Linked DNA regions of Homo sapiens: region 1 is linked to region 2. Evidence: promoter capture Hi-C in 16 types of primary human blood cells and fetal thymus (Javierre and others, 2016). All regions are on one chromosome and are shown on one strand. Each heading gives the region's core, a stretch centred on a gene start or on the middle of the fragment in contact. The rest is flanking DNA. Distances are from core to core; before and after follow the strand shown. Region 1 overlaps MTRF1 (mitochondrial translation release factor 1). Region 2 holds the start of KBTBD6 (kelch repeat and BTB domain containing 6).

What was found. The method cuts DNA at HindIII sites, captures the fragments that hold promoters and counts their contacts. A CHiCAGO score of 5 or more calls a contact.
Region 1: a contact is called between a fragment that was not itself captured here and the fragment with the promoter of KBTBD6 in region 2, in 1 of 17 cell types (neutrophils). The highest score is 6.2, in neutrophils.

The regions. Positions count from the first base shown.
Region 1 is chr13:41,213,133-41,218,109 of GRCh38, forward strand. MTRF1 (mitochondrial translation release factor 1) reads right to left here. Exons shown (of 10, transcript NM_004294.4): 10 at 3,237-4,096. The coding sequence ends at 3,983. The region is part of intron 3 of KBTBD6-DT (KBTBD6 divergent transcript); the gene reads left to right. Among named protein-coding and RNA genes, the nearest start is that of KBTBD7, 21 kb to the left of the region's middle. The HindIII fragment of the contact is 3,447 bases long and covers 468-3,914 here.
Region 2 is chr13:41,131,209-41,135,901 of GRCh38, forward strand. KBTBD6 (kelch repeat and BTB domain containing 6) reads right to left here and starts at 1,594. Exons shown (of 1, transcript NM_152903.5): 1 at 1-1,594. The coding sequence starts at 1,303. It overlaps KBTBD6-DT (KBTBD6 divergent transcript), which reads left to right and starts at 1,720. Exons shown (of 4, transcript NR_120423.1): 1 at 1,720-1,847. RefSeq lists enhancers at 1,247-1,296, 1,657-1,896. The HindIII fragment of the contact is 7,724 bases long and covers 1-4,220 here.

The DNA.
Region 1 (4,977 bases), core at 941-3,440, 83 kb after region 2:
GATGCTTGTAGATGTTTGTCTGGGCAATAAAGAGTTAGGAATTTATTATAGTCTTTGCAATCTGGGCTTTGCAATCTGTGCCTGCCCTTCTTGAGAAGGCTTTCCTGGTATACAGAGGGACTAGGGCCCCAAGCTCAGTAATGCTATGGTTCTTGCAGACTCATAGAAGTCCCACCTTGGTGGTCTTGGATAAGATTATGAAGAATTCTCTGGATTACCAGGCAGAAACTCTTGTTTTCTTCCTTATTTTCTCCCAAACAGAGTCTCTCTGTGCTGAGCCGCCTGGAACTGGGGGTGAGGTGATGCAAACACCCATGTGGCCACCACCAGTGTAATTGCCCTGAGGCAGACCTGAAACCAGCATAGTACTGGGTCTTGCCCAAAGCCCATTGTAACCACCACCTGGCTACTGCCTATGTTTGCACAGGCCGTAAGGCTCTACAATAAGCAGGTGGTGAAGCCAGCCAAGCTTGTGTCCGTCTCTTCAGGATGGTGAGTTCTCCCAGGCCCCAGGCAGGTCCAGAGATGCTGTCTGGGAGCCAGGGATTGCAGTAAAAACCTTACAAGAAGTCTACCTTGTGTCTTATTCTACTGTGACTAGGCTGGCACCCAAACCACAAGACAAAATCCTTCACACTCTTCCCTCCCCTTTCCACAAGCAGAGGGGCCTCTCCCTATGGCCTCTGCCACCACTGACCCATGGCGAATTCTGTCAGACCACCACTAGTGTTCACTTAAGGCCCAAGGGCTCTTCAGTCAGCTGTGACAAATGTTGCCAGGCCTGGAACTCACCCCTCAGGGTAGTGAAATCCCCTCTGGCACAGTGCAGGTCCAGAAATGCTATCCAAGAGCCTGGACCTGGGGACCCCAAGAGCCCGTTGGTGCTCTACACCATGGCCAAGCTGATACCTGAGGCTGGCATGTCCGAGTCTCACTCAAGGTCCACAGCATACTGCCTGTGCATCGCTGTTGGTTACTCAGGGCCCATGGGCTCTTTAGTCAGCAGGTGATGAAACCTGCAAGACTGAGTACTTCCCTTCAAGGCAGAGGGTTCCCTTCTGGCCCAGGGTGTGTCTAGAAATGTTGTCTGGGAGCTAGGGCCTAGGATGGGGGCCTCACAATTCTGTCAGGTGCCCTGTCCTATTGTGGTTGAGCTGGTATCCAAGATGCAAGACAAAGTCCTTACTCTTCCCTCTCCTCTCCTCAAGCAGAAGGGAGTCACTTTTATTGCTGTGAGCTGCACTGCCTGGGGTTGGGGGAGGGGTGGCACAAGCCCTTCCTTAGCCACCCAACTGGTGTCCCATGTCCACTGGCTCTGCACTCAGCACAGAACAAGGATTTACCTAGCAACTACAGTCCTTGTGGCCTAGACTGCCTTTCAAGTTTATTTAGGACCTTAGAACACTTTAGCCCACAGTGTTGAGGCTTGCTGAAACTCAGGTTCTGACCGCTGGGATGGGCAATTCCCCTCTGGCTAGGGCTGGTCTAGATGCTCCCTCTGTGGATGGGCATCTGCTGAGTTTAACTCAGTTTTGCTTTCTGCTGTGACCAGGCAGCACTGAGTTCAACACAGGGTCCCAAAATTGCTGTGCTTTCCCTCTCTCAAGGGCACAGCACCTGCTGCTGCTAGGGGAACGGGGAAGGAGCAGCGTTACCAATTCAAAACTATCTTTCCTACCTTCTTGCAGTGATATGAAGTTAAAATCAGGTACTGTGATTGCTAACCTGATTTTTGGTTCTCATGAAGGTGCTTTTTGTATGTGTAAATAGTTGTTAAATCAGTGTTGCTGCATTGGGGGACAATTGGTAAAGGTTTCTACATTCAGCCATCTTGCTCAGACCTCTCCTGATTGAACTATTTCTTAAAAATTATTGTGGCTGGGCACAAAGGCTCACATGTGTAATCCCAGCACTTTGAAAGGCTGAGGCAGGATGATCACTTAAGGCCAGGAGTTCAAGACCAGCCTGCGTAACATAGCAAGACCCCATCTCTACAACAATAAAAAAATTATCTGGGTATGGTGATGCATGCCTGTAGTCCCAGCTACTTGGGAGGCTAAGGTGGGAGGATTGCTTGAGCTCAGGAGTTCAAGGTTACAGTGAGCTATGATCATGCCACTGCACTCCAGCCTGGGCAAGAGTGACACCTTGTCTCTAAAAAAATAATTTGGCTGGGCGCAGTGGCTCACACCTGTAATCCCAGCACTTTGGGAGGCTGAGGTGGGTGGATCATGAGGTCAAGAGTTCAAGACCAGCCTGGCCAAGATGGTGAAACCTCATCTCTACTAAAAATACAAGAAAATTAACTGGGCGTGGTGGCACACACCTGTAATCCCAGCTATTTGGGAGGCTGAGGCAGAGAATTTCTTAAACCCAGGAGGCAGAGGTTGCAGTGAGCCGAGATCACGCCACTGCCCTCCAGCCTGGGTGACAGAGCGAGACTCTATCTCAAAAATAAATAAATAAATAATTTATTTTAGACTTTTTCATTATGCTTGAATATTTTCAAAATAAAAATTAGGGAAAACATTCCTCTTTAATGTTTACATACAAACAATTCCATTGGCCTTAAAACTCTTAACTAGTCTTTCTTGGCACATAAACTCTTCTCTGAGGAGTAACTAAAATAATAATCCTTTCTTTTTTTTTTTTTTTTTTTAATTTTTTGAGATGGAGTCTTGGTCTGTCACCCAGGCTGGAGGGCAGTGGCGCGATTTCAGCTCACTGTAACCTCCGCCTCCTGGGTTCAAGCGATTCTCCTGCTTCAGCCTCCTGAGTAGCTGGGATTGCAGGCATCCACCATCATGCCCGGCTAGTTTTTGTATTTTCGTAGAGATGGGGCTTCACCATGTTGACCAGGCTGGTCTTGAACTCCTGACCTCAGTGATCTGCCCGCCTCGGCCTCCCAAAGTGCTGGGATTACAGGCATGAGCCATTGTGCCCAGCCATTCCTCTCTTTTTAACTTGAAACGTCTTCGGAACAATTACTAAATACATCATGCCACTCTGTATTACTTGGTGATTTACATGTTTAAATCCTTCAGTCAACTGCAAGCTCTTTAAGGTAAGGACTGGGTTTTATATAATGCTGCACAAAACTGATCTCAGTGTATTACTCATATTACACATCTATTGATGCTCATTAAGTTAAGCCAGCAAACAATAACTTTTTTACTCCAGCTTGCCAGGAGTAAAAAAAAAAAAAAAAAAAAAAGAAATAGAAGTCAAACAAAGAGTCTATTTAAAATATCAGCTTATTGTTTATATAGTGTGGAATTCATACAGCAATCAAAGGGCTTTACTGTCTGTACCCAGATGCTCATTGTTATTGAATGACTCATATTCTTCATAATTTTTATTTAAAAGTTGCAGTCTAAGTCTTAACTTTAACATGATTAACAGTATTATGGTTTTTCTTTATGTTTTGAGTTTTTTTGTAGACATGGGGTCTATTTTGCCCAGGCTGGTCTCAAATTCTTACCTCAAGAGATCTTCCCCCTTTGGCCCTTCAAAGCACTGGGATTACAGGCATAAGCATCCACTATAGGCCAAGGTACTTTGTATTTAAATAAAAGGTTTATAAGGAAGTCTAAAATTCATATTTTACTAAATTTTACCATATTTTCCTGAAGTAGTAGATTAAAAATATATTTAAATTAATTCATAGATGGCTGGGGAAAAAAGGCATATAAAGAGAACAAGTGACTTGTCCTAAATGACACAATCAATTCTCAATACTTTCTCTTTTCAATGATGCATGCTTATTTTCTACTTGATGAGTTGGATTGTACTTTACAGGAAACCTAAAATAAATTCTTAGGTCAGGAAATGTGACTTCGATTAATTACAAAACATATATTTATGTGTAATGTGTTCTTAAAGCTGTAATTTACAAATATTCATAATGATTTCCAAGCTTCAGTCTGCCTCTTGATATAGGTCCATTTCATTTATATAATCATAAATAATAATAAGTTAGTATTTATTTTGCTGATTTAAGGTGTTCATCCAAAAGTTCAGCAATGGCTTCTTCATCTGCTGATTGAAGCAGTCTCTGAATTAGCTGATCCAGGCCCTTCCCACCACATAAAAATTCCTGGTAAAAGAGAGAGCTATTATGAAACCTAATGATTAGAAATATAAGCAAAGACTTTAGTGTTTATTTATTTAATTTCTTTGCAGTCATTATTTAATAACAATAAAGGATTACTAATGTTCTGTAATACAATGAACACAATCGCTAACTTGGGAAGATCCCCACTCTGTAGAAGAATTCAGTTAGCATTTTATTTTAAAATAAATCTTCTGAGATTTGGATTTTCCTAACAACTCCAGAGACAACAAAACAAAGAGATCTAGATGGACTTTTGAAACTGACCACCTCCCTCCCTTTAAAATTCCACTGATTGGCTTTTATGACAACACCATTCTAGGCTCTCAAACCATCTTTAGGAGAACGGGTTTGCTGGATTTTCTCTTATTGTACCCTAAAAAAAAAATGCTTTTATTCTTGTCCTGAAAATTCTACCCTTTTCACTCACATTATGTTATTTCCCAGAGGAAAAAGACTGAAAGGTCTCAATTCCACAAGCAATTTGTTCCACAAGCATTTTGTGCATTAATGCACATACTGCTCCTTGCCAACTCCTCTGGATCTGACTGAGAGGAAGCCTCCCCCGACCATTCAAGCTCACCCTTCTGCTAATCCTCAAAGTTTAGATTATTTCATCTGTAAGTGGTTTATGATAGTTTTTTATTTTTAAACCGAAAACATGATGATCTAGAAGTCCTGTGTAACTGAAAAATATTTTTGTTGAAATATTTAGGGGTGAAGTGTCTTTGAGGTCTGCAATTTGCTTTCAAATGGTTCAAGAGCAACACAGGTTTATAGAGAGACAGAGGAAATGGTGGGGGGAAAGAGAAGGAAAATACAGTAAAATATTAACAACTGTTGAATCTAGGTATAGTCTATATTGT
Region 2 (4,693 bases), core at 344-2,843:
CATTGAGATATGCCACATCCATGCCCTCACGACACAGCAAGCGATCTGCAAGTTGCTGCCAACTATTCTGAGCTGGTTTATACACCCAGAGGTCTGTCCTGGGCTGAGCAGCTAGATAGATGTCATGGTCAGGAGAGATACAGACAGCTAAAGTGGTGACAGTCCTAGTGTGAGCCAGACAGGTCAAAGGTGACGGCACTTTGTAAAGGTCCCCCGAGTATGGATCACAGCAGAGAAAGGGATCTCTGGGGTGTCCAAAGAAGATCACCATCTCCTTGGCACACATACCCAGTCTCTGGGGTGGATTTTCTGCTGCAGATACAAGAGAGTTGCTGCTGCTACTGCTGCTGCTGCTGTTTGGCACTGGCACCAGAGACTTGTACAACAGGTCACCATAGCGCATCTGCAGGGCCCCTTCAATAACGTCCAGGCAGTACTTCTTCACGATGGGCTTGGTCAGCAGCCCTTCTAAGTAGTCCTGATCTTCTTCAGTGAAGTGCATCCAGCGCACGCACTTGAAGACTTCTGCAGCACTGGGACCCCGCTCTTTGGGAGCAGCCTCCAGCCACTGCACTGCCACATGGCACACTGTCTGCTCACTCTCCACGTCCAGACTATCCAAGCGCAGGACAGCCAGCAGCTGGGCCAGGGTCAGATCTGCTAGAGTCTCCTCCCGAATTGAACCCATGTGGCTGAGTTGCTTGAAGTTCTGAGCTATATAGGACTGGGCCTGGGATCGCAGCTTGCGATGGCCAAAGGCATCTGCAAACTTGAGGATGGCGGTGCAGTTGGTCAGGTCAAGACGTCGGGCTAAGAAGGAGGCACAGGCTTCCCGCACATATTCCAGCTGTAGCATGTCGGAGGCCGCGTACAGGCGCTCCACGTTGGCCTCACTGAGAGACACACGACCCGTGTAGCAGTAGTCGACCAACACCTCGAAGGACTCGGCGTCCACATCGTGCATGGTCACGCTGGCCTGCTGGCTCTCGTACATGCCACCTGTGAACATGCTCTTGAAGTAGGGACATGCCGCGGCCAGCACATTGCGGTTGCAGGGGAACAGGCGACCCGTGCCAGGCCCGCTGCCAGGCGTCACCACCTCGATGGTCACATCACACAGCAGCCGCGCATCGTAGAAGGACTTGAGCTGTGCCAGCAGGGCTGCAGAATGGGCCGTGTCCTTTAATTCCTCTGGACCCGTGAAAAAGGCCGAAACTGTGGGTTTGTGAATCTTCTTGGGCCGCTTCCCACCACGGGGACTGGCTAGGCGGCGAGAGCGCGGGGCGTCTTCCCGGGACTGCATGGTGGAGATGGCGACGGGCGCTGATGGCGAGAAACGCTGCAGGACCCGGCTCTGGCTCCTCCTCAACCTTCCCTCGCTGACGCTAAGATAGCAGCGTCTCCGAAGAGACAGCAGCACGAGCCCATTTACTGAATTCAACCCTACCCCGCAGAACCGCCTCCCGTTATCGTTTAGACAGTGGCTGACTCACCCTCTCTCACTCCCGCGTCCTTTCTCCGCGTCTGCTCGCCTTCACAGGACCCGCTGGCTTGGAGCCGCAGAAGCCGCTACTGCAGCGTGGGCGACAATGCTAGGCGCCCAGGAGAACTACCGCTCCCAGGTTGCCTTTCGCGCCCCGAGGGCTGCTGGGACTCTCGGACTCCCGGGCCGAGACCGAGGGAAAGAATCCGCTTTGCATGTCGGGAGTAGTAGTTTGTGTAATATCGCGATCCTTCTCTGGTGTTCCTTGTTTTAGCTGACGACACTCGAGAGCGCCAATTTTCCTAGATTCGATTTTGTGGTTTGGAACTGTGGTTTTGGAATCCAGAGTAGTCGCCTCGTTCTAGTATGTATTGTTTGACTTGTCTCTTTGAACTGTTTCTTCTTTTGTAAGACGTGAACAGTAGTATTTCATAGGATTGTGTGAAGATTACATGAGTTGGTTATAGGACGCTGTTAATAAATATTTGTTGGTTTGTAGAATAATTACTCAGTTCTTAGAATTATAAAGGTTCGATAAGTTTTCTTCCAGCCTTTATTAAAAAAAAAAAAAGGAAGCACCACTAATTTGAAATTATGAGCCTGTAGGAAAACAAAAAACCCCCCAAAACAGAAAACCTTGCAAGTTCCAGCAGAGATCCCTTTTTAGGGGCGTGTGTGTGTGTGTGTGTAAATTAGATTTTATTTTTAGGTTTACGGAAAAATTGAGCAGCAGGGACAGGGAACTTCCATATATCTCTCCCCACTTCACAGTTCCCTTATTATTAACATCTTGTATTAGTGTATGTATCCATTAGAAGTGATTTTTTTTTTTTTTTTTTTTTTACTCACTATGCCTCTCCCTGGTACCAAAAGATAACTCAGGGTTTGTAGGATTGGTTGGCTATCGCTGGAATTAGATCCCTGGCTTTTTCACAATTGCCTGTCCTTATTTGCCATGACTAAAAGGAGACCACCTCCAGTCACCTGACTTTGAGACTTTCCTTCCATATCTGCATTTCAAAACCTGAAGTCCTCTGTAGCCACTTCTCCCACTTGGTCTCTCCAATATTCAGTACCCCTTTCCCTTTTTTACACAAAAGAAGAGACATGCTTTAGGGGGTCCTCACCCCAAAACACAATGGAAGCCAGAGGCCTGGTTGGTAATTTAGCATCCTTTTAGACCCAGTGGCTCAAGCATTTCTCCCCTTGCTTGTATGAAGTTGCCTCTCCATCAGAGCTGACTTTATTTCTAGTCATTCACTCAACCTTTACTTACCCCGTGCAGTTCAGACATTAGAAGTCACTGAGAACACCTAACACGTTTCCGCTTCGGACTCACCTCCTGTGAAACCCTGCCACTGTCTTCCTCTCTCATCACTGTCCACCGTAGTCAAAACAATCAAGCCACTCTTCTTCCCATTCCCTCTGAAGGACAACCTTGTGACTGAATCACCGTCACACAGTCATTCACATTTCCTCACTCTGACATCACCAGAACTCCTCTCAGAGACCTTGATATCACCTTTGTAGATGGTTCTTACCTCAGGAGTACAAATGGGGAATTTTAAGCAGGATACACTATTGCAGATTTTCAACAGCCTATTAAGTTGAAATCTCCACTTAAGTTAACATGGCCCAAATCATTGAATTCTTAAGCACTCACCCAAACTTGCATGTTAGCACAAGATAAGGGAACTAACATTTATAGAGACAGCCAGTTTACTTTTGGAATTGCACGTTATTTTGGTATGCTATGGAAAGAAAGAGGTTTATGACAACTGAGGAGTACCACTCAGAACCCAACTCACTAACTTATTTAAGTCTTTTTTTTTTTTTTTTGAGATGGAGTCTCGCTCTTGTCACCCAGGCTGGAGTTGCAGTGGCGCGGTCTTGGCTCACTGCAACCTCCGCCTCCCGGGTTCAAGCGATTCTCCTGCCTCAGCCTCCTGAGTAGCTAGGATTACAGACACCCACCACCATGACCGGCTAATTTTTTTTTTTTTTTTTTTACTTTTAGTTGAGATGGGGTTTCGCCACGTTGGCCAGGCTGGTCTCAAAATCCTGACCTCAGGTAATCCACCCGCCTCGGCCTCCCAAAGTGCTGGGATTACAAGCGTGAGCCACCGCGCCCAGCCCCCCTGTTTAAGTCCTTACAGCTATCCAGAAATTAGCCATTCTCAAAAATCAAAGCTCACACTAGTGGCTGGACTAACAAAGCTAAAGGAAACTTAACTGGCTGAAAATATGCTAAGGTTGCTGCTTCCCAAGAAAACACCTCCTGAATCACGTGTATACTTCTCCTTGCTCAACCTACTCTAAAGACAGAAACTCTTAAGAAACTTAAGATATAACAGCTGCTAGCACCTGAGGCTGAAAAAGCAAAAAAGCAACAAGCTGGATGTTTTTTCTACTCAGATGGGCTTTGGAGACACCTAGACATCATTGATTTCTCTTGGTCCCTCACCCAAAATTTATTCTGCAGCCTCCATGAGATTACACATTATGGCAAAGAAAATCTTTCTCCGCAAATATTGTTGGGGATGCCCTAATACTGAGCAGTTAACTTCAACTTGCCCCATCTGCCAGAAACACAATCCTAGTCAACATGTAAAGTGGGACAAGCATGAGAGTCAACTCTCTCTAGTCCTTGTTTTCATTGGAAAATATATCAACTCTCAAAGTCTTATGGGTACAAATATGTTTTAACCATAGTTGGCATGTTTTCAGCATGGTTAAAAGCTTTTCTCTGTAAACAAGCTACTATCACCACTGAAGTTAACCTGATACCAGAAAGAATTTTCCCCTCCTAGGGATCTCTGTTTTTTTTAATAACAGTGGAGGAACTCACTTCAGTAGTAAGGTTATTCAGGATCTTCAACAAGTACTTCCAATGTTACAAAAACTGCAGTCTCCTTACCAGTCCTCTGGAAAATGAAACAAGCAGGCCAGTGGTACCGTTATATTCAAACTAGCCAAACTCTTTAAGGAACTCAACCTGCCCAGAGTCTCATGCCTAATGGCCCTTGACTCTTCTATTATCCCCAATTTCTCAGCATGTACTAAATGAAACTTAATTCTTAACATGATTAATGAGTCTCTTGAAATCTCCAAACTCAATGACTCCACTTTTTCAGGATCAAGTGTAGGAAAAAATGTAGGAGCACTTTTATCCCTAATAATAACCATTTTCTCTTCCACCACTTCCCAACC